Regions from separate parts of the Homo sapiens genome. Here region 2 is linked to region 1. The links are contacts of gene promoters, found by promoter capture Hi-C in blood cells and fetal thymus (Javierre and others, 2016). All regions are on one chromosome and are shown on one strand. The core of a region is centred on a gene start or on the middle of the fragment in contact, and the rest is flanking DNA. Distances in the headings are between cores, read along the strand shown.

The links. The method cuts DNA at HindIII sites, captures the fragments that hold promoters and counts their contacts. A CHiCAGO score of 5 or more calls a contact.
Region 2: a contact is called between the fragment with the promoter of PLS1 here and the fragment with the promoter of PLS1-AS1 in region 1, in 1 of 17 cell types (megakaryocytes). The highest score is 5.5, in megakaryocytes.

The regions. Positions count from the first base shown.
Region 1 is chr3:142,654,564-142,659,608 of GRCh38, reverse strand. It overlaps PLS1-AS1 (PLS1 antisense RNA 1), which reads left to right and starts at 2,799. Exons shown (of 4, transcript XR_001740938.2): 1 at 2,799-3,051. The region is part of intron 1 of PLS1 (plastin 1); the gene reads right to left. The HindIII fragment of the contact is 6,495 bases long and covers 1-5,045 here.
Region 2 is chr3:142,594,300-142,599,344 of GRCh38, reverse strand. PLS1 (plastin 1) reads right to left here and starts at 2,952. Exons shown (of 16, transcript NM_001145319.2): 1 at 2,836-2,952. It overlaps PLS1-AS1 (PLS1 antisense RNA 1), which reads left to right. Exons shown (of 4, transcript XR_001740938.2): 4 at 2,048-3,436. RefSeq lists an enhancer at 2,657-2,896. The HindIII fragment of the contact is 10,696 bases long and covers 1,463-5,045 here.

The DNA.
Region 1 (5,045 bases), core at 1,550-4,049:
AGAGGCTTACTCTTCATTATATGCTTTTTGTATTCAGTTTTTTAGACTATCAGCCTACCAAAACAAACAAATAACTGAAAAGCAAAGGCAATTTTGGTAAAACATTTAAAAAAAATGAAACAAATACTAGTGGTCTAAAGATACACATTACTGAATACTGATAATGATAAAATTATATATACAGTACCTATAGTGACCATTTTAAATAAGAGCACCTATGTTTCTTTACAAAGCAAAATCTATGATTAAAATAGTGAAATAATTTATAGCTTTCCACAAAGGCACCTTTTCATTTCCCAGCTATTCTATTTTCCCATCTTCCACAGTGGCCCTGTCACAGGTCACTTGAAATTCTGACTTCTCAAGCTAGCCCCTGACTCGGGTCAGCCAGCTTTTCCCCTTATCCATCCTCCAAAATTTCCTTTTTCCTTTATTCTTCCTCGTCTAGAAATATGAAATATAATGGCAAATATTTATTGAGGGCTTTCAATGGGTCTGGAACTGTGCTAACCTCCTCACATGCATGAGCTCACTACGCATTTATCTGCTCTACTGATGGTACAAGCATCATCCCTTAAAAATGTATATTTGAGGCCTACAGAGATTAAGTGACCTGCCCAAGGAAGGTAGACAAAATAAGAGATTCAAAAGCAAATGTTTTTCTAGTGCCCAAGTTCTTAAGTTCTACATGTAGTTCAATTAGCATTCCTACTCTCTCACGGCAAGCATCATAACTAGTTTTAAAGAAAGGAATGATGACTACTTAACACTAAAATGTGAATAACCAGTAAACCAAGCCTGTAAAGTGTTAATTCTTCCAACTATATTTACATTACTATTTAATCAATATGTATACATCAGTAAAACAAATGAATCACATCTGTTTCTCAAAATCATACTAAATGAAAAAAGCAAACTGCTGAAGTATACATACAATATACTATTTATTATAAATTATAAAAACACAAAATACTATATATGTTGCTTATGATCCCATACCTATGTAGTAAAACTTAAACATACATGAGAATAACACAACAAATTCAGAATAGTGGTGGTCTATGTAGAGGGAGGCAAGGAGCAGGGCTTGCAGGGTAGGGCTGAATCTGTTACATCTTTTTTTTTTTTTTTTGGAGACAAAGTCTCACTTTGTTGCCCAGGCTGGAGTGCAGTGGCATGATCTCAGCTCACCGCAGCCTCTGCCTCCCAGGTTTAAGCAATTTTCCTACCTCAGCCTCCCGAGTAGCTGGGACTACAGGCACCCATCACCACATCTGGCTAATTTTTTTTGTATTTTTAGCAGAGACAGGGTTTCACCATGTTGGCCAGGCTGGTCTCTAACTCCTGACCTCAAGTGATCTGCCTGCCTCAGCCTCTCAAAGTGCTCAGATTACAGGCATGAGCCAATGTCCTCAGCCTGTTACATATTTTTTAAAGATACAGTTGAAGCAGTTATGGCAAAATGCTAATGTCTGCTCAATCTAGGAAGTGAGTACATGGACATAGGTTATATTGATTCTGTATTTTAGTCTTTTGCTTTAAATAATTCATATTATAAAAAATTATTCTTAAAGAGAAAAAAGGATGCTTCTTAATCCAAAGCCACAAGCCACTAATAAAGGAAAATCAAGCCATAAAAATAATAAAAAATAAAGATGACCAAGAATATGTTTTTGAACAGGGGAAATTTTACCAAGGCTTTAGGAAACTTAACTACTTCAATCTTGAGAAATTAAAATAATTAATATTATTGTGGGAGAATAATTTATTGAAATGTTAAATTGTGTTTATTCTTTTTCCTCCTCAATTAAAGCAATAACACACTGGGCGTGGTGGCTCACGCCTGAAATCCCAGCACTTTGGGAGGGCGAGGTGGGCGGATCATGAGGTCAGGAGTTTGAGACCAGCCTGGCCAACACAGTGAAACCCCGTCTCTACTAAAAATACAAAAATTAGCCAGGTGTGGTGGCACACGCCTATAGTCCCAGCTACTTGGGAGGTTGAGGCAGGAGAATTGCTTGAACCCAGGAGGTGGGGAGGTTGCAGCAAGCAGAGATCGCGCCACTGTACACCAGCTCGGGTGACAATGTGAGACTCCGTCTCAAACAAACAAAACAAAACAAAACAGCAATAACACTATAACACTTTCTTATCTGAGGGACTCTGGCAGCACAGAAGGCAAAACCAGGCTAGAATCTGTGGTTCCCTCAGTCTTTGGGAAGAAGCATGAACCTCCTAGAGGGCTTACTTAGGTTGGATGTCCTGGCAATCGGATCAGGGGGAAGAGGCCACCTCTGAGAAACCACTAGATGAGGAAGGCAGTGAGAGGGAAAGATTGCCCCCACAGGGAGGAAGGGAAATCTCTAGGTGCCAGCAAGTAAGACTGCTGCTTGCTGCCCTAGGAGTGGCAGGTGCAACAGAACCTCACCGGAGAGAATCTGCCGACTAAGCCAAGGGGTGTTTCCCAGGTAGCCACTGAAGACCGATGATGGAGAATAGAAGAGCTTCCTCTCAGCCTTTTGCTCTACATTAGACCCAGGACAACAGAGGCTGAGGAGCAGATTCCAGGTGCCTGAGAAAGACTTGGCAGTATTCGGGCAGGATGAAGCATGACAATAAAAATAAAGTTGCTTCAAAGAATATCAAGAAATGTGATCTTTCTTTTATCTGACTTTTATGGAAAAAGACTTGATAGTGTTCCTATGGAGAATTGACTGAGATCAGAGGTTCTAGAATATTTCAGTATCTCTGGTGAGTAGAAGTTCTACTGGTACCCCATGTCCTCTTCTTCTTTGCAAATTATTGTCTCTCTCACCACAGCCCTTCCCTTTTCCTATGTTACTTCCCATTTTCAGCCCTCCATTACAAGTTTACAGATCACAAGGTCACTGAAATAAATCACTATGTGAAAAAAAACAGCTATGAAATAGTTGAAGAATTTTCCTTCTAGTTTAAAGGAAAACCTGGAAAATATTTTCATCTATATGTCTAGCAATCTCCTTATTCAACAACATTTCACAACAGGGAGCTGTATCATTCATTTTGGAAAAAGTAAGTATTCATATTCCATATCAACCTGTCCATTTTTTATCAGATTTTCTTTAACTGGAATGTCTACTGACTGTTGAATATAAGTATGAATTGGGATATCATTTATTTTGTTAAATATTAGTCTCCTACTCTACATAACAGCCTTGACTGTCCTTTGGACAAAGGGTAAAATATATGAAAATGGTGCAATATAATTCAAAGATTTCCTGAGCATCCTTCAGCACTAAAATAACTGAGCTCAACTTTTTCATTCATTCACAAGGGACAGCTATGATAGAAAACTTTTCTTAAAAATTGGTCGAGTGCAGTGGCTCATGCCTGTAATCCCAGCATTTTGGGAGGCCAAGGCAGGCAGATCACTTGAGGTCAGGAGTTCGAGACCAGCCTGGCCAACATGGTGAAATCCTGTCTCTACTAAAAATGCAAAAATTAGCCAGGCCTGATGGCATGCACCTATAATCCCAGCTACTTGGGGGGTTGAGGCACAAGTATTGCTTGAACCAGGGAGGTGGAGGTTGCAGTGAACTGAGATTGCACCACTGCACTCCAGCCTGGGTGACGGAGTGAGACTCTATCTCAAAAACAAACAAAAAAAAGTAATTAATTTGATTGCCAACAGCCTGGATTTGCCAAATCCTGGGCTATTTTAAAAAGACAATTTTATTTTCAAACACATAAAATAATTTCCCACATGCTTAGACAATCCTAGAGACCTCGAGAACTTCAATTATGCACCATTATGAAGTGTTAAGCCAGGAACAGCGCACCGGGGGTAAAGTGACACTGGTTCCAAACTGACTAACTCTTTTGTGATCTTTTTTTTTTTTTTTTTTTTGAGACGGAATTTTGTTCTTGTTGCCCAGGCTGGAGTGCAATGGCATGATCTCAGCTCACTGCAACCTCCACCTCCCAGGTTCAAGCGATTTTCCTGCCTCAGCCTCCCTGGTAGCTGGGATTGCAGGCGCCCGCCACCACGCCCAGCTAATTTTTTGTATTTTTAGTAGAGACGGAGTTTCACTATGTTGGCCAGGCTGGTCTCGAACTCCTGACCTCAGCCGATCCACCCACCTCAGCCTCCCAAAGTGCTGGGATTACAGGCATGAGCCACGGTGCCCGGCTTGTGATCTCTTAAAGGGAGGCCTGACAATCTCCTACAAAAACAAAAAATAACAATACACTGTTATTTTAACATTGGGACTTTTTTCTGCTTCAGTCTTCCCAAGTATTTACCATTTCATTATACCCCACATTGCCAAATTAATGCGGTCTCTGTTCTCCACTCTCAACTTGACAGCTTGGAAGGCCGATTCCCCCATATCCTTAACGCCTTCCCATTGGCATAAGACTTCATCACCTCTGTCTTTTCCTTTGCTCAGTGTCTTCATTTCTTATGTATTATTCCGTTCATGTACATTAATTTATTCTTGGTTATGTGTTGTGTTGTAATGGTCTTATTTTGCTATTTTATTTTCATCCCACCTTCCTATCATTGTTTGCTCCTTGCAGGTAAAGGATATTTTATATTTTTATATTCCCACTGGCCTTGTGTTGTATATGTGGGGAAAGGTTAGTAAAATTCATTAAAGGTAATATTTCTCTAATATTTCTCTTCACAGAGCATAAGGAGTACTAGATAACAAAGGGCCAAATAAAACAACAGTTTATGGGAAATGTGCCACCAACTGACAAGAGGAGATGAAGAGTTTCTATACGTCAATAACCAGTTCTCTTCATTCACTTACCCATTTATTTATTCAACAACAACTTATTGAGCACTTGTTTGCTGTACCTCTTTACTGTGCTGTGTATTGGAAGCACAAAGACTAATTTGACAGCATTCAAATTTTTTAATCCACATGTTTATACATGGTGTTTCTTCTAAATCTATCAAAATAATTTTTGTTGGGCCAGGGGCAGTGGTTCATGCTGTAATCCCCACACTTTGGGAGGCCAAGGCCAGAGGATTGCTTGAGGTCAGGAGTTCAAGACCAGCC
Region 2 (5,045 bases), core at 1,703-4,202, 60 kb after region 1:
AAAAAAAAAAAAAAAAAAAAAGAATATCTGAGTCCCTCCTCTATACAATTAGGGGATAGTCTGGATAAAGCGCTACCATATAGCTCTAAGATCCTAAATGCCCACCCTCCCCATGGCAAAATGCACTTTTTATTTATTTATTTATTTATTTATTTATTTATTTATTCATTCATTCATGTAATAACTATTGAGTGTCTGATACTGCAAAGCAATGTGCCAGGTATTGTGAAGGGTTAAAGGTCATCCTTCAGAGAGCTTATCATCTAGAACGGGAAATAAGACAATTACATCACTAACTAAGAAACAGAGACAATGTCACAATTCGAGGTACTTTTTTTTTTTTTCAGATGCAGTCTTGCACTGTCGCCCATGCTGGAGTGCAGTGGCACAATCTTGGCTCACTGCAAGCTCCGCCTCCCGGGTTCATGCGATTCTCCTGCCTCAGCCTCCCAAGTAGCTGGGACTACAGGCGCCCACCACCATGCCCCCCCAGCTAATTTTTTGTATTTTTAGTAGAGATGGGGTTTCACCGTGTTAGCCAGGATGGTCTCAATCTCCTGACCTTGTGATCCACCCACCTCGGCCTCCCAAAGTGCTGGGATTACAGGCGTGAGCCACCACACCCAGCCAATTGGAGGTACTTTTAAGATAAAAAGAACATTATAAACCCATTACTAACACCCCAACCCTGAAATTCATTTTCAACATGTCTTTCCTTCTCTGCATTTAGTCTTTCACCACATGCTTCTTCCTTTACATTTCTTAATTCTGTGCCCTCTTTTCTCCACTTTGAGTCACAGGCTTAATCCAGGGCCTGGACCAACTGACCCGTGTTTTTACGCCTGTCTCCTGTAATCCCCCTAACTAATCTGTGATCTGTTATCAAAATATGAGGAATCAGAAATGGACTTGGCTGCTGTCTTGATACAGCTCTAACATGGCCTTCCCCATATTATAGAACACACATGAAATCTCTTTACAAAACTATACATACTGCACTTCCTTCCCCCACTCCCTCCCACAAACAGGGGCTAAGAATATACTTTGTGCTTAGTGCTGGGTGGGATGTTTAAGTCATAGGCTTTAACCTCCAAGAGCTTACACAACCTGCCAACTTCCTGGTCGGGAAGTTGGGAGGTGCTAAAATACTCAGGATACTATATACAATGGGGATACTAACAGCACAAACAACAGTAGTAAGTGCTATAGGGTTCAGAAGAGGGAGAGCTACTTCATGCTAAGGCAATCAAGGAAGGCTTCCAAAAAGAGGTCACACCTGAGCTACACCTTGCAGCATGAGCAGGACTTCAATACGGAAAGAGGGAGGCAAACAGGCATTTTGGGCAAAGGGCCCAGGTGACTGAGGGAAGGAAGGAGGGCGTTTTCAGGACCAGCAAATTGTTAGGTGGGGCTTCAGTGAAAGGGCACTTTTTGAAAGGAATTTATGAGGTACTAGGAAGCTTAGTAAGAGAAACAACTAATTTTCTGCTTAAGCCAGACTTCATGGTATAAGTAGAAGAGAAAAAGGAAGTTTAATAATGGAGGTAAAGAAGAGTATCTGCAGGGAGTGGTAAAAAGACCCCAGAAAATGAGAAAACCTGGATCCCAGGCCTAGCTTTGCCAATGAGGGGCTTGGGTGGCCACAGCAAGTCATCTAACCTCGCTGGTCTCAGTTTTCTCATTTGTAAACTGAAGCAGCTGAACTGGCTGACCTCAAAGGTCTCTACAGCCAAAACTAGACCAGCTGTATATTATTTCTGCCATTAAAACATTTATCATGGGAGGAATGAAGGGGGGCAGGATACCTGTATTCCCTTTCCATATAGGTTTCTCTTCCTGAACTTAAAATTTCCTCTTCCTAAACTTACTACCTCTCTCTCTATATATATATATGCCTCCACATTACACATTAACACTTTACTATAGAATTTCATTACATAATTCAACTTAAAGGAAAGCTGATTACAAAGGTGGTGGGGGGTGTAAAAGTACTTGCTTCAAGTTCAGTGTGTGCCCCCTGTCCTGAAATTTTGCTTCTGGCTCACAGGTTCTTCAAGAAATTTATGCAGCACAGCTGAAGCCTCATACAAGTGTATCCAACACCGTGGCTGGAGGGAAAGATATCACGGTATAAGCCATAAAATGTGACATAGTAAGTAAGTAAAGGAGGAAAAGTGAGAATTCTGTTACTCATCTAAACGACCGCTTCCTTTTAATAGTACCAAATGAAGACCGAAATACAGTAATAATTGAAAAGTTAGGGAGAAATCTTAAATTTTTTTAAGTCTCCACTTGAAAATGCAGCTGAAACACGGAAAGTTTTTTGGCAGTGAAATTCGCTGAAAACTGACATTTTTATGCCGCATCCAGAGGTCCCTATGCTCCAGGAAAGGTACCAAAAACAGCACGGATGGGATTTCACTACAGCCCTATTGATCCTATGCACCAAAAGGCCAAAGGCAAATAAACCAGTCCCAGAATTAAAACAAAACAGGCTGGTTCAGAAAGCCTCACCGGCAGCCACCCAAAGTTGAAAGAAGAAAACTTAATGAAATACCTTATTTCATTGCATAGAATCACAATTCAGTTAACAGGCTTATTGTTTAAGCAGTGTAAATACGCGATTTAACACCTGCGGGCACTGCCTGCCGGGACTGGGCAGAAGCGTGCCCAGAGGACGGCGGGCGCCACACTGCACAGCCAGGAGACGAGACGCGAGCGAGGGGACCCGGAGATACTGCCCCCGAGCCGCCGCGCGCCCCCAAAGGAGTAACGCTTCGCTTTCCATCTGTCTGTCCAGCCTTCCTTTTGGGCCCTATCCCCACCCCCGCGTACCTGCCGCCACCGCTGTCCTGCCTTCGAGAGGGCAGCTCCCACTGGAGATCCAAGTACCTGCAGGTCCACTCTGCGGCTACCTCTCCGCGCCCGCGTAGCCGCTGCGCTCGCGCCACTGCGCATGCTCGGCCGGCACCCGGGCCCGCAAACTCTGAATCCACTTGCCGCGTTTTGCCTGCGGCTCCCAGGGGAGGGAAAGGGAAGCCCAGAACCTGGGTTTAGGCTAAGGGTGAAAGAGGAGTTGCAGGCGCTGGGAGCGTGGATGGGGAGAGGTGGACGGGCGCTGCGGCAACGTTATCTCTACCGCCCACAGTTACCCAAGTCTAAAGATGACCACCTACACCCTGGGAATGAGTTTAGCACAGCAGTTCTCAAACTTGAGCGTGGATCAGAATCACCTGGAGAGCTTTTTAAATCACAGATCCCAAACCCGGAAACTGAGTTTCCGATTCAGTTAGGTCTGGAGCGTAGCGCGACAGTTCCCATTTCTAACATGTTCTCAGCGAAAACTGGTGCTACTAGTCTGGGTACCACACTTTGGGACCTGCTGGTCAAAAGGAAAGGTATACGTTATTAAAGGAAGACTTGTTTCTCTCCCCTACTCTTTTTTTTTCCGTTTGTTTCACGGATTGCTTCCTTTTCCTTTAACAGCCACACCTGATTAAAATAAATATATAACTAAAGCCCACACTCAAACAAAAGTGGGATATTTTCTCTCGCATGTGAGTCAGGTAAATGGAATGCTGCCTCAAGAGTTCTCACATACTTTGCCTGAAGCATAATCCGTAGTTGTGGTCTGTCCAACTCAGTCCAGAGAACAGAACAAGGTTTTGCTGCCCCTTTAACTCAAAGTCCCACGTGCCCCTTCTGCGCCTAACACAATATCCAATACAGAATAGGCACCCAACCAACCCTGAGATGGTAACAATAGAAAAAATAAAGGGGGGAAGTTGAAATTATTTTAAGAACTCAAACAAATTGGACGAGCAATGAACTATGAAAGTAGGTGGGCCATGGAGAGGGAAGATAAGGAATTTTTCCCACCTGCCACCTAGAGAATCAGGTGAATTTAGTATTCTTATCTGATTTTTCCCACCTGCCACCTAGAGAATCTGGTAAATTTAGTATCCTTATCTGATACTTATTTATCTAGATATGCAAGGGGAGTTAAGTAAGTTCTCACAAAATAAAGCAAAATATTTCCTTAAAAGGTAAACATACATCTAACATATGACCCAGCCATTTCATTCCTAGATGTTATCCAAGAGAAATTAAAACATATGCTTACACAAAAACTTGAACAGGAATGCTCATAGCAGCTGTTTTTCACAAAAGCCCCAAACCAGAAGGAACCCAACTGTCCAACAACATGTAAATGAAAAAACAAATTGTGGTATATTTATACAATGCAATACTACTCAACAATAAAAAAGAAGAAATACTCTCACACAGGACTCAATATGGATAACTCTCAAAATCGGTATGCTGAGTTGAAGAAGCTAGAGACAAAACATATTGTATAATCCCACTTATATGAAGTACAAACTAACCTATAATGACAAAACCCAGATTAGTAATTGCCTGGAGCCAGGAGTGGAGGGAAGGATAAACTGCAAATGAGCAGAAAAAATATTTTTGGAGGGGGACGATGGAAATTTTCTCTGTTTTGATGGTAGTGACAAGTTCACAGGTGTATACAACTGTCATCGCTAAGTTGTACACTTTAAACATGAAAAATGTGTGTAAATTATTCACCAATAAGTTTGATAAGAGAACACTTTTTCATGAAATACTCTTATGATCTGTTTTTTTTTCGTGGTAATATTGACCAGGGCAGGTTCATGAGGAAACGTAGATTCTAAATATGGTATAACCTGATTTGGGAAAGGTAAAATAAAAAGTCATCCTCTGTAAATGAAGCTAAAAATAATGCATATAAAATGTCTGTAACAACCCTCTGTAAAAGCAGCCAACCCTAAGATATGATTTGTAAATATACCATTGATAAAACCGTTTCCCAAAATTGTTTCCAAGTGTAAAATAATAACTAGAGTATATCATTAGAAATGCACAACCAGGGCCCAGTGCAGTAGCTCACGCCTGTAATCCCAGCACGTTGGCAGGCCAAAGTGGGCAGATCACCTAAGGTCAGGAGTTCAAGACCAGCCTGAGCAACATGATGAAACCCCGTCTCTTCTAAAAATACAAAA